Linked DNA regions of Homo sapiens: all the other regions are linked to region 3. The links are contacts of gene promoters, found by promoter capture Hi-C in blood cells and fetal thymus (Javierre and others, 2016). All regions are on one chromosome and are shown on one strand. Each heading gives the region's core, a stretch centred on a gene start or on the middle of the fragment in contact. The rest is flanking DNA. Distances are from core to core; before and after follow the strand shown.

Evidence for each region. The method cuts DNA at HindIII sites, captures the fragments that hold promoters and counts their contacts. A CHiCAGO score of 5 or more calls a contact.
Region 1: a fragment that was not itself captured here is called in contact with the fragment with the promoter of ASB15-AS1 in region 3 in 1 of 17 cell types (fetal thymus); the score reaches 5.1 in fetal thymus.
Region 2: a fragment that was not itself captured here is called in contact with the fragment with the promoter of ASB15-AS1 in region 3 in 1 of 17 cell types (M2 macrophages); the score reaches 8.7 in M2 macrophages.
Region 4: a contact is called between a fragment that was not itself captured here and the fragment with the promoter of ASB15-AS1 in region 3, in 1 of 17 cell types (M2 macrophages). The highest score is 5.1, in M2 macrophages.

The regions. Positions count from the first base shown.
Region 1 is chr7:124,797,989-124,801,116 of GRCh38, reverse strand. No RefSeq gene overlaps it. Among named protein-coding and RNA genes, the nearest start is that of LINC03043, 8.7 kb to the right of the region's middle. The HindIII fragment of the contact is 2,540 bases long and covers 218-2,757 here.
Region 2 is chr7:124,774,638-124,777,919 of GRCh38, reverse strand. LINC03043 (long intergenic non-protein coding RNA 3043) reads left to right here. Exons shown (of 4, transcript NR_167671.1): 4 at 358-628. Among named protein-coding and RNA genes, the nearest start is that of GPR37, 10 kb to the right of the region's middle. The HindIII fragment of the contact is 690 bases long and covers 1,165-1,854 here.
Region 3 is chr7:123,623,348-123,626,452 of GRCh38, reverse strand. ASB15-AS1 (ASB15 antisense RNA 1) reads left to right here and starts at 1,496. Exons shown (of 5, transcript NR_111922.1): 1 at 1,496-1,557. It overlaps ASB15 (ankyrin repeat and SOCS box containing 15), which reads right to left. Exons shown (of 12, transcript NM_001290258.2): 8 at 1,639-1,884. The HindIII fragment of the contact is 15,446 bases long and covers 1-3,105 here.
Region 4 is chr7:124,864,202-124,867,550 of GRCh38, reverse strand. The region is part of intron 7 of POT1 (protection of telomeres 1); the gene reads left to right. Among named protein-coding and RNA genes, the nearest start is that of POT1, 64 kb to the left of the region's middle. The HindIII fragment of the contact is 3,127 bases long and covers 506-3,349 here.

The DNA.
Region 1 (3,128 bases), core at 238-2,737, 1.2 Mb before region 3:
TATATACATATTCTAGTTATAGAATTCAGTGTGATCAAAGTGTTATTGACTCTCCATGAACAGAATGCAATTGTTTAGGATCTGAACAAAAAGAAAAAACACTCTCAGCATTTACAACAAGGAATTTAATGTAGGAATGGGTTATATGGGTGATGGAAGAAACTCAGATGCTAACTAGATGGCAGTGAGGCTATCTAAACATTGGCCCACCCAAGCTTCCTCCAGATGTAGGCAGAAGGACAAAAGGAGGCAACCCGTGCCCTTGGGCTGCTGCATGAAGGCTGGAGCTCACGGTTTTTATGGCAGGAGCTAGGCCCTAGTGTGATGTTAGCTACTACCAAAGGCAGAAAGTTGAATACCTTGACTTCTCCCTTACCCCTGCCTCTAATCTGCTGATGGCAACTGGTGCCTGGAAAATGTAGACTAAAAGGACAGCCCCTTGCAAACAGAACAAAACTGAGAAGGACAAGGGCAGACATTACCAGAATAGGCACGCAGGCATACAATTCAAGTTGTTTACAGAAGTGGGGATGTGTTGCACTGAACTGTCTGCTCTGTTTCACATGTCAGTCCCTTACTCTCACTGTTCTAGCCCTGTAAGACTGCAAGAGGGAGGCATGCAGCGATTATGGCAGAGCTTCCCATGGGCCTGAAATCAAAACAATTGTCTTCTTGACCCTATATTGCATCCTGTTGAACAAACCAAGACACATAGAAAATGATTTTATTTTCCGCGGCTCATTTTTGGCAAAAACATACATTGCCACTTTATCATGCTCTTCAGTGACAGCCACAGGGAATACTTTTGGACCATATGGTAGTAGAAAAAAATCCCTAATTAAGACATTTATTTATTTCTGTGCTTTGAAGTTCTTTTTTTTCTTCATAGTTTTACTTACATGTAACACATGGAGGTGTTGAGCTGAAGTGAAAATACAGAGAATAAATGATTCTAAGAGTTGGGAACTTGAAAGCTGGGTACGAATCAAAGGTAAAAAGTCAGTAAACTGCAATTATTGTACTGCTATACAAGAATAATTATATAAATCTCAAAGAAATTGAAACCTTTGAGGCATGTACAAAAACCATATTAACAACAATGGCATAAGATAGCCTTGCTGAAGTCTGGTCTTCAGGAAAGGATTCGGTATAGACATCAATTATAAGCAAGGTGCAGCCGGGCGCAGTGGCTCACGCCAGTAATCCCAGCACTTTGGGAGGCCGAGGCGGGTGGATCACCTGAGGTCAGGGGTTCGAGACCAGCCTGGCCAACATGGCGAAAACTTGTCTCTACTAAAAATACAAAAATTATCTGGGCATGCTGATGGGCGCCTGTAATCCCAGCTACTCAGGAGGCTAAGGTGAGAGAATTGCTTGAATCCAGGAGGTGGAGATTGCAGTGAGCCGAGACCGCGCCACTGCACTCCAGCCTGGCTGATAAGCAAAACTCCATCTCAAAAAAAACCAAAACCAAAACCAAAACCAAAAAACAAGCAAGGTGCTTCATGGGGAGTGAGGACTTTCAATCATTAGAAGATGATTTCAACCGAGAATTTTTATATTGTCTCTTTACAAATGCAATTACAGAGTTACAAGGTAATTTTATGTTTGGCTTTACTATATTTCAGGTAATCAGCTTGCTACAGTTTATACTTTTTGTAGTTTAAGTACTCTGAGAGTCAGATATTTGTAAATTATAATACTAGATTGCAGAATAGATTTTAACTATTTTGATTTAAATAATATCCTGTGATTTTAAAAAGTATCTGTATTTTACATTTTATTGTAAAGATTTTGATTTATTTTTTTAGTAATGCACACATGTTTGAAGGAAGAGGAAGAGACAACTATATCTATAAATACATAGTTAATTGCTGACAAATCTTTGAAAATTATATTATCTAAATATTGTTTTTATATTCAACTAATATTAGCCACTAAAATTGCTAATTTTTACCTTCAAATTTTACAGTTATTTGATAACTACAAATCATTAATTTTTAGCAAGAAACCCAGAAAATTAAGGTAATGTCTAATCATCCTTACTGAAAAAAATCGCTAATTTTAATGGTGAGAGTGACTATCTAGGAAGAAGAGCCTTTCTTGAAAATAAATGCCTTAAATTTATAATTTCTGTGAGTTTCATGTTAGTTTTCATTTTATGATAAAGTTTTAAATAAAAAACTATACCAGTGGAGTAAGAGTTTTCTCAAAGGCTGTGAATGATCAATACCAAAAAAACTTGTTGCAAAGTAAAGACTATGGGCAATTGTTATTGACTGACACACGGAAAGAGGTAGTTTGGGTGGTAGGGGAAGGAGGCTTGAGAGAGGGATAGAGAAGAGCCACGCAATATCAAATAAGAGTTAGACAGATCTGTCTTCCTCCTCACACATACATCCAAAACTTCTGTGACTATTTTCAGAAAGGTAATTGCAAATCCAAGGAGAAACTGAACATTTGACACGGTTCAGTGTGACTTCCTTAAATCCTCACCTCTTTTGACTCCTTAGCCAAAAAAAAAAAAAAAAAAAAAAAAAAGGTGAAGTTAGGATACAAGGAACTAGGAGTGAAGGATAACATTCTATTAATGTATAAAGCTAACTCACTTGTAGCTGGGGATATTTTCTGATGGATTTGGTCATTGTTGAGTAGGTAAGATTTTATTAGGTAGAAATAGAAATTCCAAGAGGAAATAATGTGAATTTTGATTCAGTTGTTCTATGAGTGGGCCTTGGATTCTGCAGTTAACAAGCTTTTAGAATGCCGATGGTGCTAGTCTGGACCACACTTGAAATATCAGGCTAGCAAGGCAGCAGCTTCCAGTTTCTGCATCATGCAGAAACATATTCCCAAACCTATTAATCATTAGAATCACCAGTGGAAAATCATTATGTTCCCCTCCCATCTATTCTACAAACAGAAGCCAGGGCACACCTTTCACAATGTAAATCAGATTCTATCATTTACCTGCTCAAAACTACCTTCTCATCACGCTCATTACAATCAAAACTCTTTACAAAACTATGTATGATCCAGTTGGGGCAACCTCTCTAATCTAGCATATCTTATTCTTCTCCAGATACACTGGCCCTCTTATTACAAGAATCAGCCTCTGCCAAACACCT
Region 2 (3,282 bases), core at 260-2,759, 1.2 Mb before region 3:
GTTTCTGCTCATCATTGCATTCCCCAGTGCCTAGCACTGTGCCTTGCAGTAGTAGAAATTGACAAATATTTGTATCAAAAAAATGAAAAATGAGCATGAGCTGCATGTGAATGAAATCATTGTAATGTTGGCCAAGTTTCCACAATATGTATTTGTGCAGTTGAACTATCAGAAGACATAATACATGGTTTAATTTATCTGTTTGAAATATTGAAATCAAAAGATTTTTGTGAATGAAGTGCTAATAGTTTCTGCCCTTGCTTTGAATTCCTTAGGGCAGCTACTAATTTGCCAAATGCCTTTTATGAAAATGTTTGCATTTTCTTTTATTTTTATTTGTTTTCTTGTCATCCTTAGGGAGCAGAATGCCTGTCTGACTCACCCTGACAGATCAGCTATGGCAGGTCTGCTGTTGTAGAAAATTCTTCACCCCAGAGGCTTTATCTCTCCTGCAGGGAAGGCTCATGAGCAAATGCTGTCATTAGCAACCATGCATTGTTGAAGACATATAGTGAGAAAATATGTCAGGTATTGTTTCAATGTACCAATGTTAGTAGAAAATCCTGAAGAATTTTCGAGATATTAACTGTAGATTAAAACAACCTTTAACCTAAATCCTGAGAATTTCCCTTGGCGTTTTGATTTTCTTTTTGTCTTTCTTAGCCATCTTTTAAAAATTAAATCATTTTTTTTTGTTTTTCTGGGAAAAATTCTTTTATCTGAGGATTTTTCTAAGCTGTACCATTAGATTTCACTTCCCTTTTTACATAGTCTATTTCATACCTATTGGTTTAAAATTATCAAAAGAGCCAGGCGTGGTGGCTCATGCCTGTAATCCCAGCACTTTGGGAGGCTGAGGCGGGTGGATTGCCTGAGCTCAGGAGTTCCAGACCAGCCTGGGCAACATGGTGAAACCTTGTCTCTACTAAAATACAAAAAATTAGATGGGCGTGGCAGCATGCACCTGTAATCCCAGCTACTCGGGAGGCTGAGGCAGGAGAATCGCTTGAACCCGGGAGTCAGAGGTTGCAGTAAGCCAAGATTGCACCACTGCACTCCAGCCTAGGCGACGGAGCAAGACTCCGTCTCAAAAATAAAAAAAATAAAAAATAAAATCATCAAAATAAATATTTCCTAGAGCTAGGACAATAGACATATCAAGCTTCCTTATAGAATAGCTCTATTTTTGTAAATATGCAAGTATACCTCACTGTTTTTTGCATAACAGATAGCAGATAAATATTTGCTAAATTAGTAAGTGCTTAAATAGTTATATGTATGTATACTTTTTTTTTCCCACAAACCATTATGGGAAATAGTAACACTTTACATAATTTGGTGAAGACATTGTGTTGTTGTGGTTTTATAAAATTTTCTAAAGCTATAAACCAGAGTAATAATCCTAGACTCTGCATGGGGCCACAAACCTGGGTGAATGTATAGAATTGACCAAAAAAGGAATTCCCTATACAAATAAAAGTGCCTAGAATAATAGTCAGGATTAAAGGCTGATTTGTTATGGGAACTTCTAAGATAATTGTTTTCAGACTGTTTTCTTTCAGGTTTTAAGTTCAAAGGGTATCTATGTACAGTTGATTGTAAAATAAATATTTGGCAGGAAAGGGTTTGAAATTCAAGTATAAGAGATAGTAGGAAAGGGGCCACAGGATGATTAACACCCAGGCTCGTAAATAAATAGTTATAATTGGAATTCTCTTATCTAACTCGATTAGAATCTGTATTTGGTTACAGAATTAAAAAGCAGTGAAAGTAAGGAATCATTGAAAACTTAATATATACCTTAAATACTTATTTTAATCTAAAATATATAAATGTTCATTTATTCACCAAGCTTTTGGGATGAGGCCAATAACATGAGTTCTATTTCCTGAATGAAGGTCCTTACCTTCTTTTTTGCATAAACCACACACCTATAACATATCATTTACATTTCCAATTTGAGTTTCATTAAAGTTAAGAACTTAACACTTAATAAAGCAATCTAAAAACATAAGCATTTTTAACTTTTTATCATAACATTTTATAGTTTTCTTACATCTAACTTAACATTTTAAAAATCAAATCTTTCTGAAACGTTTAAAGAAATGACTCTATTTTCATAATCACATCTCATCACTTTTTAATATAATGTTAATTAATTTGCATAATTATCATGACAAGTACAAGTGACTTTCACAGGTAAAGAAGCAGACACAACTGATTTTGACTCTGGTAAGCAACACCACTCAAGGAGAGGGTTGGAAGCAGAAGTGCCTGAGTCTCCTATGGAGTAGCCTGTCAGTGACTGGGCAGCCCTTGGGCAGTCCATGTGTTATGGGTGGAAGGAAGAGCATTAATGAATCCAATAGTTTGGTTAATTCTAACTGAACAGTATTCTTTTAAAATTTACATGTCCCTTATTTTAAGAATAATATGTTTATTATATATATCTTGAAATAATATGTTTCAATAAATTGAAAATAAAACACATACATACACACATACACACACACACACACACACACAATGCACCACCTGGAAAATCACTATAAATATTCAATCATTCTATTTCCATAATGCTCTCTTATGCAAGGACCACTTACAACACAATAATTTTTAAACACAGTCCATGGTTTTAGCTAATACTGCATATATCACATAAAAATAGGACAATATGCCCTTATAATGAGTTATTCTTGTTATAACTCATGAATATTAGTACCAGTGTTGGACCTATAGCTAGAGTTTCCAGATTTCCTTCAGTTGCATAAACCCTCTATACAAAAGAGAGATTTTTTTGTATAAACAATGTAAAGAATGTGAATCACTAATATGGAAATTATGTGAATGTGAAAAATATTTATTATGTTTTGGAATATAATATTATTTAACAGTGCCTTAGCCATTTTCAAATGAGGATATATGAGTACAAAAATAATAGAGATGTCTCTAACCCTTCCAGATAATTAATGAAGGAGTCAGGATTAGAACCCAGGCCTTTTCTCAATATTGTAATATTTATGGGTACCTGATTAAAATATAGTCATTATGATCTAAGCGAACAGTATGCTGTAATGGTCTGAGGAGATGTTTTCTTTCCAAATATATTTCTTCGATTAAAATGGCAGGTTTCTAACATTCTTTAAGTGTATTTCCCAGTAACAATTTAAAATTATAGGAATTTCTGTATAAACAATTACGGGATAGCAATAAACGACCTCAAAAAAAAAAAAAACAAAACTCTGGATTGCTTTTGAAAAATGGCACATGAAGTAAAAAGAA
Region 3 (3,105 bases), core at 247-2,746:
TCGACCAGGCTGGAGTGCGGTGGTGTGATCTCAGCTCACTGCAGCCTCCGCCTCCTGGGTTTAAGCAGTTCTTCTGCCTCAGTCTCCTGAGTAGCTGGGATTGCAGGCATGTGCCACCACAGGGTTTCGCCATGTTGGCCAGGCTGGTCTTGAACTCTAGGCCTTAAGTAATCTACCCACCTTGGCCTTCCAAAATGCTGGGATTACAGGCATGAGCCATGGTGCCCGGCCCCCTCTATTTTAACTTAACAAATACTTACAGTTAATAAAGTATTAACAAATACTTTATTGCCCTCTATGTGCAATCAGTGTGTGTGACCCTAAGAAGAATAAGTGTGACTACTCTAAGGAGCTTAGAGGGGAAATGAAACAAAATATCAGACAGCACAAACTGTATGATATTCCAGTGACACTGACATTAAGACAAGGAGACATGATGTAGGGGACTGTGGCTCTGCTGCTTATGGTGAGAGCTGGGGGCAAGCCGTTTACTTCCGTGCACCTCCATCTCCACATCTGTGAATGATTAATACAGCTTACTTCACAGGGCTTATTTGAAAATTAAACGTGGTTGTATTGGGACACCTCAAAAATGTTAGTCTTTTTCCTACAGGGAATCACTGGGGATCATGCGGTTCTAGAGGTCATTTGCAGATGAGGACGCTGAGGACCAGATATTTAAGGAATAAGGCTAGGGTCTCACAGTGAGTAGTGGCTCAACCAGTTTAGGAGTCAGGTCTCCTTAACTCATGGTTCTGTAGTTGTATAAAACACCTGGAGGGTTTAAGAAAGGGCAGTGTCACAATCTGTTGGAAAGAATTAGGAAAGGATTTAGGGAGGAGGTGTCTCAAGAGATTGACTTTGAATTGTGCTGAAGAGATAAAGGCAAGGACCTGACCCAAACCCTGCAAGGTACGTTTGGGAATACTGCTAGTATATTTTGACTGGAGTGTAGGATACAAGATGGGAGCAGTGAGGGATAAACGTGGTAAAACAATTTGAGATGATGCAATAGGGATTGTTTTTTGGATAGTTGACACTATTGTAGCTGCCCTATAGGGAGAGGAGCCAAGTTGCAGTATGTACTGTGATTCTCTGATGGGAGACTAGAAACCCAGAAAATGGTTAGAAACTATTTGCACTGGTCCAGGGAGAATTGAGGGACCTGATCAGGATGGCAGATGGATTGCAATGAGAGGACAAGAGAAACGCTACAAGAATTTGCAACTGATTGGATTTAGGAAAGCAGGTGATGGAGGAATTAGAGATAAATACGATCTTTCAATCCTGTTGAGAGAAATTATTACATTAGAAGAGTAGAAAAACAGGAGGAATTCAGTTAAGGAGAAGATGAGCATGAGGCCCTGATGGGCCATCTATGTGCAGATTGAACTGTCTCTCGAGAGAGCAATCAGGACTGGGCTTGTAAATTCGTAGGTCACAATGTATAGGGCTTAGCTGAGTTGTAGAATAAGGGTCTACTGAGGGACCAGGTGGGAAAACCTGATGCCAAGTTCCATTCAGCAGAGGAAGAGGAGCTCCCCTAGTTACATTCAGGTGAGGAAGAGTGATGAATGGAGAAAAGGAGAGTTCGAGAGGCAGGACAAAAGTCAGGAAGTGTAACTCCTTTTCACATACCTTTGTGGATTAGATGTTCTAACACGTCACAGTGACCATACTCGGCAGCGACGCCTAGTGGTGTGACTCCAAATCCATCTCTCAGGTGGACATTGCCTCCATGTTTCAGCAGCAGAGCTACGATATCTTTTCGGCCTTGCTTGGCTGCTTCATGCATTGCTGACCATCGCTTGACACAGGGCTGGTCTAGGCTAGTGTTATGTTTGATCAGAGTCGACACCATGTCATAGGAGCCCTTTTTCACAGCTTGAAAATGATTGTTAAAAACAACAGTAAGTATATTAACACAAATACCTTAGGTGGTATTAAACTAATTACTAAATTTAATATTGAAATAGATACTAGCTAGTAACTTTTTTTCTACAAGGAAAATAATGTATTTCTCATATCCCTTCTGTTTCTCATACCCAAGTTTATATTTGTGAAATATAAGTTTACAAGATGACACTACCTTTTCTTTAAGACCTGGAGGAGGGGTAAGAGTTTCACAGAAAATAACACGTATCACTAGGATAGGATGCTGTGTGCCCTCTTTCCAAATTTTAATTTCTTCACCAACAAAATGGAAATAACACTTGTTGTTGGGTTGTACAAATTAAATAATGTATGTAAAATTCTCAGTGTAGTACCTAGTACATAACAGGAGCTCAGTAACTGGCTATTATTATTATATCACTCCTAGGACCCAGGAACCTCATATGTAAATCATGTTCATCAGGTTTCCCCTATAGAAACAGGGTTTTTTCCCCTTGCCGCAAAAGATAGCAGCAAGTATTGAATGAACTTCTCTTTCTTATATATGTATTTTCTTTCCTTTCTCTTTCTTTCTTTCTTTCTTTCTTTCTTTCTTTCTTTCTTTCTTTCTTTCTTTCTTTCTTTCTTTTCTTTCTTTCTTCCTTCCTTCCTTCCTTCCATTCTTTCTTTCTTCTTTTCTTTTCTTTTTTTTTTTTTGAGACAGAGTCTCGCTCTGTCGCTCAGGCTGGAGTGCGATGGCACAATCTCAGCTCACTGCAACCTCCACCTCCTGGGTTCAAGCAATTCTCCTGCCTCAGCCTCCTGAGTAGCTGGAATTACAGGCGCATACCACCAAGTCTGGCTAATTTTTGTATTTTTAGTAGAGACAGGGTTTCACCGTGTTGGTCAGGCTGGTCTCAAACTCCTGACCTCGTGATCTGCCCGCCTTGGCCTCCTAAAGTGCTTGGATTACAGGTGTGAGCTACCACGCCCGGCCCTCTTTCTTACATTTTTAATGGGTGATTATCAATTAGATTGTTTAGAATCTACATAGGCCAACTGTTCCCAGTGAGTGAAGTAAGTGACCGTTAATGTAGTACAATTAAGGAGGTTCACCAAATCAGTTGTCCCTCTCCCTCTCTGCTCATCTCTAATGGCTGAAATTATACTGTTACAAGGTTTTCCCCTTTTGGATTATTAAGAGATTGTCCCCATTTAGATGTATACACTTCT
Region 4 (3,349 bases), core at 820-3,319, 1.2 Mb before region 3:
TGAGATTTGAGGGAAAATGTTTTCCACCAGATGACACTATAGGTGCCAAGGCCCTGTGATAGGAATGAGCATGGTATTGGAGAAACAGAAATAAGACCAGCATGGGCAGCCATGGGGGAGGTGTTGCAAGATGAAATTGTGGTAGGTAAGTTATTTAGATTTTACTCTAGGTATAATGAGAAGTCATTAGAGGGTTTTAAATGTGAACATGAAATTATTGGTTCAAATTTTGAAAAAAATCTCTCTTACTAACGTGGATAACAGATGGGTTGTTGAAGAACAAGCATGAAGGCAAAGATATTCTTTAGAAGGCTATTTCAGTTTTACAGACATGAAATGAGGATGCGTTAGACTACAGTGGTGGTGGAAATAGAAGTAGACTAATTAAGGTATATTTTGAATCTCAAGCAAAGAGGACCTGCTCATAAATGATATGTGAAAGCTACCAACACACCTAAGCTGGAAGATTGTTCTGGTTTACTATGTTAATCAGCAGAGGCAAGCTTTAGTCAACAGTATACACTAGTGAGCATGGAATTGGTGATAAAAATGATGACCACAGAACCAAGAATCAATCAGACATTGGAGTATAAAAGAGAAGCAGCATATACATCAAGTAGAACCCATTTAAAAGTTAGGTAATCGATCAGTTGTAGGCAAGTATAGTTAGAATCTGCAGAGCGAACTTCTGTGTTACGAAAAATTAACTGGTACTAGACTAGCCCTACTACCACGAAGACCCATAAAACGTTATGAGGCAACTGTTTTTTAGGCATCGGACAATGGGTAGCTATGATCAGAGAGTGAAGAGAAACTTATAAAGTGAGCCCCATGATGACCACATCCCTGCCTATAGACATTTTCTCAACCACTGCACAGTAAGCTGAAGTTCAAGCTGTGGTCCTGCTATAGCTAAAGTCAAAGTTCAAGGCAGCTGAAAGCTGGAATTTTCACAACAAGAAACCAGAGAGGAAGGAGTTATACAGAAGGGGATGTCTAAAAGTCCACCAGGGTTGGGGTGGGCTCGAATACTTGGTTGAAAGCCAGGCTGCACAGAGCAGGGTAGAACTACTTAAGGATTACAAAAGCTGCTGTGTGGTTGAACTGTGGTTGAACATGAAATGGATACTGGAGGTCTAGTAATGGGGTGCTGGAAGTCCAAGATAGTCAGGGACAAATAACCTTATTAATACCTCCTTAACAGCTTGGACATTCAGCTGAGGCAGCACAAAGGTTTCACCCCCCAAAAGTAGCTCACCTCACGAAGGACCACATCTTATAGTAAGGCCTATTCTACACATGTTTTATCAAAGCCTGAAACAAGTTCTACGGAGAAGACTTCGCAGAGAGTTTGCAGGGTGAGTCCCATCAAGGTAGAAGACTTTGGGAAACATCATGGGCTTTCCACGTATCACCCTAACAAAGCATAAAAACAAGCATTCATGAGTTTAAGATGACCAGACAACAACTCAGTGGCCAACAAGAACAAAAATCAGTGTTTGTCAGAAGAAGCCAACATAATTCAGAGTCTTTACAGTATAGCATCTATGATGTCTAGTAAAGAAAAAAAGATATATTCTACATGAAAACAACAAAGTGTTACCCTTAGTCAAGAAAAAAGAAAAAATCATACACATTCCAAACCAACTCCATGGTAGCCCAAATGTTGTCTTTATTAAACAAAAACTTTAAAGCACAGATTATATAGACTTTCAAAGAATTAAGTGGAGGTGAGAAGATCCCTTGAGCCCGGGAGGTCAAGGCTGCAGTGAAATATTATTACACCACTGCATTCCAGCCTGAGTGACAGAACGAGATCCGTCTCAAAATAATAATAATAATAATAATTAATAAATAAAATAACTTAAAAAAGGAATTAAGTGAAAATAGATTCAGTGAATTAGAGGAAGATGTTAAATGAATGAAAAGAAATTTCATCAGAGAAGTGGAAACTATTAAAAAAATAGAAATTCAGGAACTGAAAAGAACAAATGAAAAATCTAATGGATGGGCTAAATAGATCAGATATAAGTTAAATTGATGACAAATCATTAGAAGCTACCTAATCTGAAGAACAAGGATTAAATACAAATTAATAGACCCTAAGGACCTATGGAACAATATCAAGGGTTACATGTAATTTAGGATGCAAGAGGAGAGAGGGTGAAGGGAAATAAAATATTTATAGAAATAAGGACCAGAATTTCCCCAAATTTGATGAAAAACAAAGACTTAAATGTACTTTATGCAGGGTATGTGCAAAGAAACGCACATCCAGACAAAACTTTCTCAATGTGAAACCATTGAGAAAGAGAAAAATCTTGAAATCAACTGGAGAAAAAAATGATGCATTGTTGGAGAACAATGATACCAGTCATCTTTCACTTCTTACCAGAGACAGTGACACCCAGAGAACAAAGAAGTAAGTTTTATATGGTGATAGAAAAAAATTTATTCACACAGAATTTTATATCCAGCAAATACATTCTTCAGGAATGAGAGTAAAATAAAAACATTTTATATAAAGGAAAAATGAGATAGTCCATGGCAGCATATCTGCATAGCATTAATGCTAAAGAATGATATTCAGGCCAAAGAGGAATGCTAGCAACTAGAAGCTGGATAGTTAAGAAGTGACAAAAATACAAGAAATGATGGAAAAAAATAGCAAATACGTAAACACAATGTTTTTCTTTCCGTAATTTAATTAAAAGAGAAATGTCTATTTAAAGCAAAACCAATAATATTACATGGTGGAGATTATAAAATATGTAGAAAAAATACTACAACAGTAACACAAAGGATGGATGGGATAAGTAAATGGAATTCTACCATTGAAAAGATATTTGTGAAGTAGAACGCGTAAAATAGGAAGTGGCAAGTATGAAATGGAAAGTAGAAAGTACATAGTGGAACAATATTGATTCCAAGTGGACATTAAGAAGTTAAAGATTTATTCATAGCTAAGAAGAACGAAATGGAGCACTAGTAAGAATTCCAAAAAGAAAACAAGAAAGGAACAATAGGAAAAAAAATGGTTTTAAAAAAGCAAAGAAGCAAAAAAGCAAGAAGTATGAAAAAAAGGAAAACAAATAAGATAGTAGACTCAAATATGGCCATGTTAATAACTGCATTTCTGTGAATGGACTAATTTCCAATTGCAAGGAAAAGATTGACTGAACAAAAATAATCAGGAACCAAATATATGCTACCTATGAGAAATGCACTTTAAATATGAAGACCTAAACAAGTTAGAACTAAAACTGTAGGAAAAAAAATGTGCAAAGTAAACATAAGGGAAATGAAGTAACGATATTACTACGAGAGAGTTTTGGAAGGAGCATTTCAT